Linked DNA regions of Homo sapiens: region 1 is linked to region 2. The links are contacts of gene promoters, found by promoter capture Hi-C in blood cells and fetal thymus (Javierre and others, 2016). All regions are on one chromosome and are shown on one strand. The core of a region is centred on a gene start or on the middle of the fragment in contact, and the rest is flanking DNA. Distances in the headings are between cores, read along the strand shown.

Region 1 (6,134 bases), core at 2,411-4,910, 700 kb after region 2:
GAAGAAGCTGCGACCCTTCTGGGGCCCAGACCTCAGGACTCCCTGAGCCAGAGCCGTGACCCACTGTATCACCCCCTTGGAGCTCCACAGTGGCTGTCGTCTCTGAGTTTTTAGGCACCACCATGCTCCCCTTATCTAGATGCTGGCTCCCAAGGCGGACGCCGCTTGTGGTATGCCTGGTCCAGCCACAGCCTCACACGGAGCCAGCGCTGTGCCAGCACCTGGAGCTGTCGGCCCCGCCACAGCAGCGCGTGCCTGACCCACCCTTGGCAGGTGTGAGATCTGGGCCGCAGGCACAAGCCGAATGCAGCCTGCCTGGCGAGTGGGAGGGGCAAGTGCAGCGGTGAGCCCGGAGCCCAGCAAAGCCTGGGCAGGAGCACCACCAGCTGTGGACATTTCCAGCTGAAGAAGGGGAACCCAAAGAATCCTGTGTCAGCATCATGACCTGGCGTGACCCGTGCCTCCTCTTTCCTCAGGATTCTCTGGAGGTCACCTCTTCTCCCCTGAGTGGAGTTCCTGCTTGCCGTGAACCACCAGTGCACCCCGGACTAAGCTCACTCCTCAGCTCCCCTCTTCCTTCCTCTGGCCCACGCTGACCTCTTTCTGGTCTTTATTGCCCAGAAAGAAACCAATAGGCAGGGCACGGTGGCTCACGCTTGTAATCCCAGCACATTGGAAGGCCGAGGCAGGCGGATCACCTGAGGTCAGGAGTTTGACACCAGCCTGGCCAACGTGGTGAAACCCCGTCTCTACTAAAAATACAAAAATTAGCCGGGCATGGTGGCAGGCACCTGTAGTCCCAGCTACTCAGGAGGCTGAGGCAGGAGAATCATAGGAACCTGGGAGGCGGAGGTTGTAGTGAGCCAAGATCATGCCACTGCACTCCAGCCTGGGCAACAGAGCGAGACTCCAACTCAAAGAAAAAAAAAAAAAGGAAACCAATAATTTGTGGAAGGATCAAAGAAGGTTGGAGGACTACAAGGTCCTCTAGAGAGATCCTTTAAAAGTATTTTTTTTTTTTTGAGAGGGAGTCTCACTCTGCTCTGTCACCCAGGCTGGAGTGCAGTGGTGCAATCTCGGCTCACTGCAACCTCCACCTCTCCAGTTCAAGCGATTCTCCTGCCTCAGCCTCCGAGTAGCTGGGTTTATAGGCACCCGCCACCACACCCGGCTAATTTTTGTATTTTAGTAGAGATGGGGTTTCACTATGTTGATCAAGCTGGTCCCGAAGTCCTATCCTCAAATGATCCGCCCACCTCAGCCTCCCAAAGAAAAATATCCTTTTAACAATAGAAACTACGGGTCCATCCCTGTATTATTCTGCTTCGGCTGCTGTAACAAACAACCACGGAGCAGGGGAGCTTACGCAGCAGACACTGACTGTCTCAGCATTCTGGAGGCTGGAGGTCCAAGATCAAGGGGTCAGCAGGTCGTTTCTCCTGAGCCCCCCTCCTTGGCTTTGCAATGGCCACCTTCTCCCTGCATCTTTACAGGGTCATCCCTCTGTGTCCTGATCTCTTCTTACAAGGATTCCAGTCAGACTGGGTTAAGGCCCACTCTGATGGTCTCACGTTTTACTCAATTGCCTCTTAAAAGACTATACCTCCAAATATAGTGACATCTGAGGTACTGGAGGTCAGGACTTCAACATATGAATTGGGGACCAGAGAACGGGGAGGACAATTCAGCCCCTAACAATCCCCAAGCAAAATGTAATACAAAAAAAATAGGCTGGGCGCGGTGGCTCACGCCTGTAATCCCAGCACTTCAGGTGGCCAAGGAAGGTGGATCACGAGGTCAGGAGATGGAGACCATCCTGGCTAATAGGATGAAACCCCTTCTCTACTAAAAATACAAAAAAATCAACCAGGCGTGGTGTCACGCACCTGTAGTCCCAGCTACTCAGGAGGCTGAGGCAGCAGAATCACTTGAACCCAGGAGGCGGAGGTTGCAGTAAGCCGAGATCATGCCATTGTACTCCAGCCTGGTAATAGAGCGAGACTCTGTCTAAAAAACAAAAACAAAAACAAAACAAAAAACAAACAAACAAAAAAACCTGAATTGTCTTCAGAGAGCCCCCTGGGCAGTGTGCCTGAGTTATGCAAAGCTGTAGGTCGAATGTAGCACAACCTTCTAGAGAGTCCGTTTTACCTCCCAACATGTTGAGCCTAGAAAAAAAAAATTGTAAACAGCATATTTTGGAGAATTCAAATTTTGAATAAAATTTTACTATTAAAACACAAGACTTCAGAACAAAATTTGTACTGGCCTCAGGCCATCCTAAGCTGGGTTTTTAGTGGCATAAGTTCTTGGGTAAAACTACGCAAAAGAAAAACTACGTATAGTTTTGTGAACACTATGTTGGTGGAGGAGTTCAGAGAGGCCCTGAGTCTTTCTCCAAAGAGTACTCATTTCCAGTGTCCTCGTTTCTTAATGCGTGTTATTTTCATAAGCAAAACAGAGGTCCCAGAGCTCCCTGGGGTGTAAATGATGTTGAAGGATTGTTGGGGTTGAAATAGGCTGAAATTTTTCTACTCAGGCAGAGTTCATGTCTTAAATCATATCCCCAGGGTGCAGTTAATTTATTTTAATTGATGGGAGCTTTTTACGTTTTCTGAAGAGCTCCATCTGAGAATGAGGTTGATGATGGAGGCAGAACCAGCCAACTCTTACCGAGAGGGACACATTTCTACAGGCATTTGTGATGGAATCTGACAGAAACCCTCTCAGAAGAATGCATCCCCAATTAAACTTTGTTATGACTAAAACCCACGTTTTTAAAAAAATTAGCCTAAGAGGGAATGCATGATACTTTTATGGAAATGTTTAAGTAATTAGTAGATATTAGTAATATGAATAAATGGAAATTTATGCCCTGATCCTTGTGCAAATAGCATAATATAGTATACCTAATATAGTAGATACACCAATTAACCAGCTTAATATTGTAGATATACCAATTATCTCTAAATTAATCTGTATATTTAATGCAATCTTAATATTTCAGGTGATTTTTAAATGAATTCAACACAATAATTCCAAAATTACATATAAAAAGCCACAAGTGACTAAACTGATTTTGAAAATGAAGACTAAAGATAAGGATCACGGTGGACTTAACTTGATAAAACTATTGTAATAAGAGCAATATGGTTCTGCACAGATTTGGACAAATAGATCAATGAGACCCCTGAAGGAGCTCAGGGATAGTCTTGCACCAACTTTGTGTATAATGAAGGCAGCACCATAGTACAGTGCAAAGAGAAGAGATTGTTTAGTAGATGATTTGCAAGAAATTGAATCACTATGGAGAAAAATAAAGCTTTATTCCCAGCTGACGTCATCAAAACATTTAAACTCCAGACAGCTTAAAAACCTAAAAGTTGAAAGTAATTGCAAAGATATAGGAAAGGTCTTTGTGACCCAAAATTAGCACAAGATTGTTTAAACAAGTACCAAAAAGAACAAGCCATGAAGTTATTTATTAATGGGTCAATTCAATGCAGCAAAATTAAGGCTTTTGGTTTAGGGACAAATGCTAAAAACTAAGTTACCAGACACATGACAGATTAGGAGATTTGCCTCATCAAAAATCAACAGCATATTAATATTTAGAATGTACACTCTTATAAATCAGCAAGAAGAAAATTTATAGAAAATTGAAATTCTATAGAAAACAAAAACATGACTAAGAACCTACAGAAGGGTATGTGTAAGCAGGTATAGAAATCAGTGGTGATCAAAGTAACACAAATAAAACCTACTATGGTTTATTTGTGATGCTATAACAAAACACCTGAGATTGGATAATTTATGAAGAACAGAAATTTCTTTCTCACAGTTCTGGAAGCTAAGATCCAGACACCAGCTGTTTCAGCATCTGATGGGATCCCTGTCTCTGCCTCCAAGATGGCCCTTTTGTTGCTGTACCCTCTGCAGGAAAGGAATGCTGTGTCCTCACATAACAGAAGAGATAGAAGGAGGAAAATTGGCCACCTCAAGCTTCTTATAAGGCACCAATCTCATTTCACGAAGGGAGAGCCCTCATAGCCTAATCACCTCCTGAAGGCCCCACCTCGTAATACTACTGTTTGGGCAGTTTTGTTTCAACATGACTTTTGGAGAGACCCTATCATTCAAACTAGTGCAAAATTACAATGGCAGACCACTTTATATACGTCATGAATAATATCAAGAATTGGAAAAGATGGGAGGAGGCAGAAACCCACTCTACGATGCTCCTTCTACAAGGCACATGAATACTTCAGAACACATAATAAACACTTTGGAGAGAGCGGCTATGAGAGGTGTAGGAGAGGCAGAGCTGGTACAAGGGGGAAGGGCAAATAAAAAGGAGCCCTGCACACCACAGTGATGCCAGTGTGCCATGATCTTAGGGCTATGAGGACCCAATTCTGCCCTAAAGATCAAAAGAACAACTGGAGGAATTTTATACACGATTGATAGTTATCAATGATGTAAACATTTCCTTAATTACAAGCATCACAGACTGCCAGATCCACCCAAATCCCTCTGTGTCTTCCTAGGTATATGAGAAATCTCTACACTTCCTACCTACCTTCTTTTGCAGTTTGGTTGGGACATCTGACTGGGGTCTGGTCAATGAATGTGTCAGAGGTGTTTAAACCAGAGTGACTCCATCTGGAATAGGGACTGGGTAAAATAAGGCTGAGACTTGCTGGGCTGCATTCCCAGGAGGTTAGGCAGGATGAGATAGGAGGTCGGCACAAGATACAGTTCATAAAGACCTTGCTGATAAAACAGTTTGCAGTAAAGGAGCTGGCCAAAACCCACAAAACCAATAAGGCAAGGAAAGTGACCTGTGGTCATCCTCACTGCTCATGCATTAACATGTTAAAAGACACTCTCTCCAGCACCATGACAGTTTACAAATGCCAAGGCAGTGTCCAAAAGTTACCCTATATGGTCTAAAAAGGGAGGAACCCTCAGTTCTGGGAATTGCCCACCCCTTTCCTGGAAAGCTCATGAATAATCCATTCCTTGTTTAGCATATAATCAAGAAATCACCATAAAAGCGGGCAAACAGCAGCCCTCAGGGCGGCTCTCCCTATGGAGTAGCCATTTTTTATTCCTTTACTTTCTTAGTAAACTTGCTTTCACTTGACTCCATGGATTCACCCCAAATTCTTTCTTGAATGAGACCCAAGATCCCTCTCTTGGGGTCTGCATCAGGACCCCTTTCTGGTAACAAGTGTGGGTGAAATGCCGCTTCCACCTGGCTCTGAAGCATCTCATGTTGTCTTCCATGCTCCATCTCTCCCAACCATGAGGCTAAACATGAAGAACTCTAAGACGGCAGAACCACTTGAAGAAAATGTCAATGAAAACATATCTGAAACAGGTCTCAGTCGAGAAGTTTATTTTGCCAAGGTTAAGGATGTGCCTGTGACACAGCCTCAGGAGATCCTGATGACATTTACCCACGGTGGTCAGAGCACAGCTTGGTTTTATACATTTTATGGAGACATAAGGCACCAATCAATATATGTAAGATATGCATTGGTTTGATCCAGAAAGGCAAGGACAACTGGAAGCAAGGTCTTTCAGGCCATAGGTGGATTCAAAGATTTTCTGGTTGGCAATTGGGTAAAAGAGTTATTATCAATAGAAAGGAATGTCAGGTTTATGATAACAGTTGTGGAGACCAAGGTTTTATTATACAGATGAAGCTTCCAGGTAGCAGGCTTCAGAGAGAATAAATTGCAAATGTTTCTTATCAGACTTAAAGTCTGTTATATCAGTAATTACAAAAAGGAGTAGGGGATAATGAGGCATGTCAGCTCCCACTTCCCATCATGGCCTGAACTCATGGTTCAGGTTAACTTTGGAATGCCTTTGCCAAGACAAGGCGTCTATTGAAATGGTTAGGGGACTTAGATTTTTAATTTTGATTAAGAAAAGGAACCTGGATTCTTCAATTAGCACATGTAGGAGAACCACCCAAGAAAGCCACCTAACCTCATTAGACTCTTGTGAGTAAGAAATAAAATGACTTTGAGCCACCGGGATTTAGGAGTTGTTTGTTTTAACACTTAGTCTCTCCAGACTAGAATAGTACTCTGTCAAAGGTAGTTTCAGCCTCATCATTGAAA
Region 2 (6,882 bases), core at 1,132-3,631:
AGGAAAAGTATGTTTGAGGCGGGAAAAACTGTGGCATATCCAAGGAACTGACACAGGATATGGTTTGAAAATAGAACTGAGGCCGGGCGCGGTGGCTCGCGCCTGTAATCCCAGCACTTTGGGAGGCCGAGGCGGGCGGATCACAAGGTCAGGAGATCGAGACCATCCTGGCTAACACGGTGAAACCCCGTCTCTACTAAAAATGCAAAAAATTAGCCGGGCGTGGTGGCGGGCGCCTGTAGTCCCAGCTGCTCGGGAGGCTGAGGCAGGAGAATGGCGGGAACCCGGGAGGCGGAGCCTGCAGTGAGCCGAGATCGTGCCACTGCACTCCAGCCTGGGCGACAGAGCGAGACTCCGTCTCAAAAAAAAAAAAAAAAAAAAAAGAAAATAGAACTGATAGGACATAGAACTCGCCTGAATGCCAGGATGAGGCAAAGGCGATGAGGACCAAGGTGGCTGCTAGGTCTTGGTGAAGAGCCCTGAACAGGTGAAGAGTCCTCCTGCCAGGAATAAGAACCACGGGGTGTGGCACTGGCTGTCCATGGCTGACTTATTTTGGACTTTGGGGAATTGAAAGTAGCCCTTTATAGAGATATGGAAAGGGGAAGGAAGAGAATGCTATTGGATGTGCTCGTTGTATCAGGCGGACTCATGTTTAGAAGAGGTACATCAGCATTATTTACTGTCCCACAAGATTTCTGCATTTTGGGGCTGGAAGGGAATGTGTATTTCAGGTTGACTGTCTGTTCCAGTTGTGGGTGCACAATACAGTGCTGATTAAAAAGCAACACATACAAAAAGGAAAAAATAAGTGAAGGAAGGTCAGAGCACGGCACTTCAACCCACAGTGACTATGCTTACCTGGTCTGTGTTAGCAACCCAAAAGGAATTTAAGACACTGGGCTTATTGGCAAAACACATTGAAAATTAACTGTAAAGTTTGTCTACCTGATACAGATGGCATAGGATTATGGGAAAGAATCTGGAAAAATAGGAACCACCATAAAGAATGAAACTAACACTATGTTGTGGCCACTTAATATTATGGGATAATGGTTTTTCACACTTTGGGTTCACCTACTAATAGGTTGTGAAATCAGTTTCATGGATTGCAGCTTTACTTTTTAAAAAAATGAAATAAAAGAGCATAGAATGTATCAGTGTGTATCAAATAGTGGTGATAAATATTCTGCAGCTTGTTTCAGTACACCTGTGCATACATAAAGTTATGTGTGTGTTTGTATATTTATGTGTGTATTTATGTGTATGCATTACTGAGTTCTAAGATAAAATGTCTTTATTCTATGTATCTCTTACTGTGAGTCAGAGCAAAAAATGTTTGAAGAGCCTTTTTCAACATCTTAGTGATGGAATTGTTACTTTTCTGACTAGGCTTCCGTTTCAAAGCAAGGCTAATCGTCTTTTAGCATCAGCTGGTATACCTTGGATTCTTAAAGTTCTCTCTTTAAATATTTCTGCATTTTAAATTAAAGATTCCTGCTTTAGCAAGTCCCCTAGTTCTTATTCCTGGTAGGGGGACTCTTCACCTGTTCAGGGCTCCTCACCAAGACCTAGCAGCCGCCTTGGTCCTCATCTCCTTTGCCTCATCCTGACATTCAGGCCAATTCTATGTCCTATCAGTTCTATTTTCAAAGTATATCTTGTATCATTTCCTTGGACATGACACATTTTTTCCCACCTCAAACACATGCTTTGAGACCAGCAAGTCTATAAGGCCATAGGCTTGGTTGCATTTATAATGGGAATAGCAGAGAAAGCAGTTTATTTTTTTAAAACTGCAACATCATTTGAAGGTCTTGGATTACATTTGTTTCCCAATGACACGTGATGATGTCAAAGGAAACTATAATGAGTTTACTGAGCTATCCATACAAATGTACATGCAAATATGTATACTTACAAGAACACGCAAGGGTAGAAACCATGTCAGATGCGGTCCCTCGTGTCACTCCCACTCCACTGCCTTTTGGTTTCAAATAGTCTGACCCCATGAGAATCTTTGAGACTGTCTTTCATGTCACAGAGCCTTGCACTGTGAGAGTAACTCAATTCCCTAAATGACTTCCCCAGATCTAGCTTATCACAAACTCCATTGCCTTGCAATAACCTTTGTAACAAAATGGTATTAATAAAATCATGTAGCAACTGCCCATCATATGCAGACCTAGTAATGGAATCCAAGTTACCTAAAAGGCTAATTCCTAATGAGAAGGAAAGGAAACATACCATAAAGTAAAAGTGCAAACAATTGCAAAACAGAGGCAAACAGTGTCAGTTGGATATACGTAAGCGCTGATGTAAAGAGAGATTGGAAATGATATATCTGGCTGGGCAGGTCACTCATGCCTGTAATCCCAGCACTTTGGGAGGCTGAGGCAGGCAGATCACCTAAGGCCAGGAATTCGACACCAGCCTGGCCAACGTGGCAAAACCCGTCTCTACTAAAAATACAAAAATTAGCCGGGCGTGGTGGTGTGCGCCTGGAATCCCAGCTACCCAGGAGGCTGAGGCAGGAGAAATGCTGGAACCCGGGAGGCAGAGGCTGCAGTGAGCTGAGATCATGCCACTACTGCACTCCAGCCTGGGTGACACAGCAAGACTCCCTCTAAAAAAAGAAAAAAAGAAAAGAAAAGAAAAGAAAATGATATATCCATGATGAATTAAAATGGAGTGGAACCCACTGATGGTATGCAGCTGATAAGACGCTATAGAGAAATGATATCCGGACACATGGTGAGACTTTTTCTCCTCTGTAAATCTCAATTCTTGTGATTCTTTCAAAGGGAAAGCCACAGAAGGTACCAGTTATCCACTCACTGACTTAGGTGCCTCCACTAGAATTCTCAGCACGTTTTTGCAGAAGTAAGTTATCTTCACTATTGCTCTAACACTTCTTAGTCTCCTTTTTCTTTCTTTTCTTTTTTTTTAGACAAAGGAAAAGTAAACCGCTGGTTTAGAGTCTTTGGAAGGCAATTGTATCTGACTAGAATTTAATATTATTGTTTTTCTTTCATTGTATTGCATTTATCTGTATGGCTAGTTAAACTGATTTTCCATTTAAAAGTAGTAATGCATTTTTTTATAATTACATTGTTTTAAGTAAACAAGAATTATTCAAAGGACAAAAACACTAGCACAGATGGCATTCAATGATTGCAGATATCATAAAGATAGTTCATGAATGACAAAGATTTGAGAAGTACTGTGTTCACGATGCTTCCTGGAAGAGGTGGGTTATACAGTGTTTCTTAGAGAAAGGGATAGGGGTCTACTGCTAGGAGGGAAAGATGAAGCTACTTAGGGGGACTAGGAAACACGCAGTTGGCCTGCCCTCTGCTTGGAGATCACAGCCAAGGAAACACAGGAGAGGCACCCCCTGGAGGAGCTCCGTGGGCTGCAGGGCTGACGTGGCCCAGGTAAGTGGGAGTTCAGGGAGGCCCACAGGTTGGTGCTAGGATAGTGGCAGATGATTTTCATTGTCAGACTGTGAGACAAAAGGTAGACATAAGGGAGGCAGAGGTGAAATCGGGATGGTTAAAACAGAGAATGCTGAGAGCAGAGCAAGGCAGTTGCTAAAGCTGTTACTAAAACTGGACAGCAGAAGGCCTGGCGTGGTGGCTCACAGCTGTAATCCCAGCACTTTGGGAGGCCTAGGTGGGTGGATCATCAGAGGTCAGGAGTTAGAGACTAGCCTGACCAACATGGTGAAACCCCATCTCTACTAAAAATACAAAGTTAGCCAGGCATGGTGGCCCATGCCTGTAATCCCAGCTACTCGGGAGGCTGAGGCAGGAGAATTGCTTGAATTTGGGAGGTGGAGGTTGCGGTGAGCTGAGATCGCACCATTGCTCTCCAGCCTGGGCAACAAGAGCGAAACCCCATCTCAAAACCACAACAACAACAACAGGACAACAGAGATGGACGACGGATCGGGAAAGCCAACCAGACAGCGTGAGGCCAGGACGGAAAGAGGCACAGGGAGCTCTGCTCAGTGTCGCTACAGGGGATCTCTCAGGCTCACAACGGGCCACTCCTCTAGGGAAGTTCTGGTCTCATCATGATCCTTGTTTGGTCTCACTCCCCATGTCCTTCTCTGTCCCTCCTCCAACTGCCATTTATTTATTTAACTGAAAAAGTACCAATCACCCACATAGGCATGACATACTCATCCATGTACCCATTTCTTAAAATTGATCATTGTTAACATTTGGTGTAATTTGCTTTATTTATTTTTAATGAAATAAATAAAACTTTACAGAAAATGCTTTATTTTTCTCTTTGTTCCCTCCCCATCCTATATTTTTCTCCTAAAAAACCCTATTATCAGAAATATTAGTGTGTATTCCCAGTTTCGACTTTTTATTTTATTACACACACACTCCCACACATAGCTGTGACAATGAACTTCACATAGTATGGTTCTGTATTTTCTCTTTGTTTTTCAAACTTACATAAGTATTTTACTATTTCTCATGGAAAAACTCACTTTTCCCATCCAACGTTATGTTTCCTTAAGATCTCTCTATGTTGATATAAAGAAATCTAGCTCATTCTTTTTAATGAAAATAAAGTATATTTTATGAATGTAACTCATGCTAACCATGGCAATAAAAGCTCCATCAAGCATGCATTTAGTTCTGTATTTTGTTCAATGCTGTATTCCCAGTCCCTAGAACACATACAGAGTAGTGGTTCATTAAATGTTTGTCAAATGAATGAATCAATGAATCCACTCATTTCACTGCTGACAAGCAGTAAAACTGACGTCAATTTTGCACAAACTTTTACAAGATTCCTCGGCACCCACATAAGAGACGTACTAATACGTCTACCTAGAAATATATGTATTGCATTGACAGAATTTGTGTTTTTGGTTTTGTGGGATTCTCTGAAATGCTATGTGACTTCTTAAGGGCTTGGCACATGCTGTAGGCTGTTAATGTGGCTGAGGGGTTTGGCTCTCACATGACCACTGCAGACAGGCTGTGTGCCACCTGCTCACTTTGTAAGCTTCTCGTCCCCCTCTGACAGCTCTTTGCAATGCTTTGTCTTTTCTTCAAAACTTTATATATATTTTTTTAAGAAGAAAAATCTGATAAGCCTTTGTCAGAAAAAAGTGGGTGAATTCTTCCAAGTAATAAAATAATGCAAAGTATAAAATAAAGAGGATAAACCGATTCACAGCTAGGAATACAAGGTATCTTTGGCCAATGGGATTTTGCCTTCGTGCTTTCAAGCACAGTCACTTTCTGTGCAAGGTTGTAAGTGTTCACCATGAGCTTTAGGTGGATCTAGCCCTGTAACAACAAATCACTAGTACCGCTGGATCAAGATTAGTGTACATTTGTGTTTAAGCAATATCATGGTCCATTAATTACGTGCACTGCAATTTAATGGCCTTGCAGATCTTAACACTGTGCTTTTATTTCATTTTTGCCTAGGCCCGCCTCACCGCTAAATATAAATGGAATGAAGCACTTGAAAACAAAAAGTATAAAAATGTGTATATTTTTCATTGCAAAGCAATTCTTAATGGATTTTGTAAACTTTGCAAAATTAAAAGGAAAATACTGTCAGGACACTAAGCTTCTTCCCAGGTTTTCAGATTCCGAAGCTTTAGTTGAGGGCAGTTGAAGAACCTACAAGGCTGTTCCGGAGACCTTTGTGAATGTGAATGAACGCCCTTTGCTTCAAAGGCACCTGCCTGGTGCTGAGGAATCGGCCTTGGAGCCGCCGCCCACGCCGGGCCGCTGCGGGAGAACACTCGGTGCCCCCTGCTGGTCAGACCGAGGCCCCGCAGCGTGGCACAGAGAGCTCCACGGCACGCGTGGTGTGGGAACTGCAGGCTGAAAAACGCTCCCAGAAATGAAATAGTGAGTGCCCGTGGATCTGGCACCACCTTAACACTTCCTCGTTAATAACACATGATTTTTGCTTTATTAACCTATAAGCACTTCCTATGTTTACACTTCTTGGGTTTTGATAGAAACTCGTGATCAGCAAAATTCTTTCAATGAAAATTTGTCAAATTACTTCTCCACTTAAAAGTGGAAACAGTGACGTTTTTCTTGAACTCCACGTTTATTTATATTATTTTTTAATTTCATTTTTGCTTTACAACCATCTAATGAATTTTCTTTAGATAAAATTCCCTCTAGGATTTTAAGATAAAATTCCCTCTAGGATTAAGTTTTGGTCATTTCTCTCATGAAATGTATGTCAGATTACATTATTTGGAACCTTATTTTTCCATTTTTTTTTCAGGTAGTTTAATATAGTCAGTGAATCAGCAGTGAGTTGTAGCAACTTCCATTTCTGACTATGTAAAAAACTAATTATTTTGAAAACTCTCCAGGTATAAGAAACTTAGACAAGCTGCATAAATCTAACATTGACTTAAATGAACAGCAGGTTTCTCAGGTAAGGAAAGCCCTCTGGGCTCTATAAAGGAAGAGGGGGGGTGAATACCTAACAGCAAAGATCTTGTTGATACTACCTATAATTTCCCTGTGACATTTGCACATTTAGGGGGAAAAAACATAGTTTTAACAGCAATGAGGAAATGGAAGGCTGTTAGTCCTACACAAGTCCTACACAAGAGAAGTCTGCAGAAAAGTACAACTTCACTAAAAGATTGGACCTCCAAAAAAAAAAAAACAGCCTTTGCAAATACCCTTGCCTTCCTAGCCTAAGCTTTGTGTAGGGATTATGTCTAACCATAGTACTGGCCTTGCTCTGGTTTGGGATTTGTAGTCTCACTGTCTCCAGGGTCCAGTAGACCTCACTCTAGAAAATAACATATAGTGACTTCGCTTCTAAGGACATCTGGCAGAAGCAAAGACAAATAAATCTTCCCTGGAG

What was found. The method cuts DNA at HindIII sites, captures the fragments that hold promoters and counts their contacts. A CHiCAGO score of 5 or more calls a contact.
Region 1: a contact is called between a fragment that was not itself captured here and the fragment with the promoter of DSCAM-AS1 in region 2, in 1 of 17 cell types (M0 macrophages). The highest score is 5.6, in M0 macrophages.

The regions. Positions count from the first base shown.
Region 1 is chr21:41,076,007-41,082,140 of GRCh38, forward strand. No RefSeq gene overlaps it. Among named protein-coding and RNA genes, the nearest start is that of LINC00323, 69 kb to the right of the region's middle. The HindIII fragment of the contact is 680 bases long and covers 3,321-4,000 here.
Region 2 is chr21:40,380,702-40,387,583 of GRCh38, forward strand. DSCAM-AS1 (DSCAM antisense RNA 1) reads left to right here and starts at 2,382. Exons shown (of 2, transcript NR_038900.1): 1 at 2,382-2,754; 2 at 3,878-4,657. The region is part of intron 3 of DSCAM (DS cell adhesion molecule); the gene reads right to left. The HindIII fragment of the contact is 5,736 bases long and covers 1-5,029 here.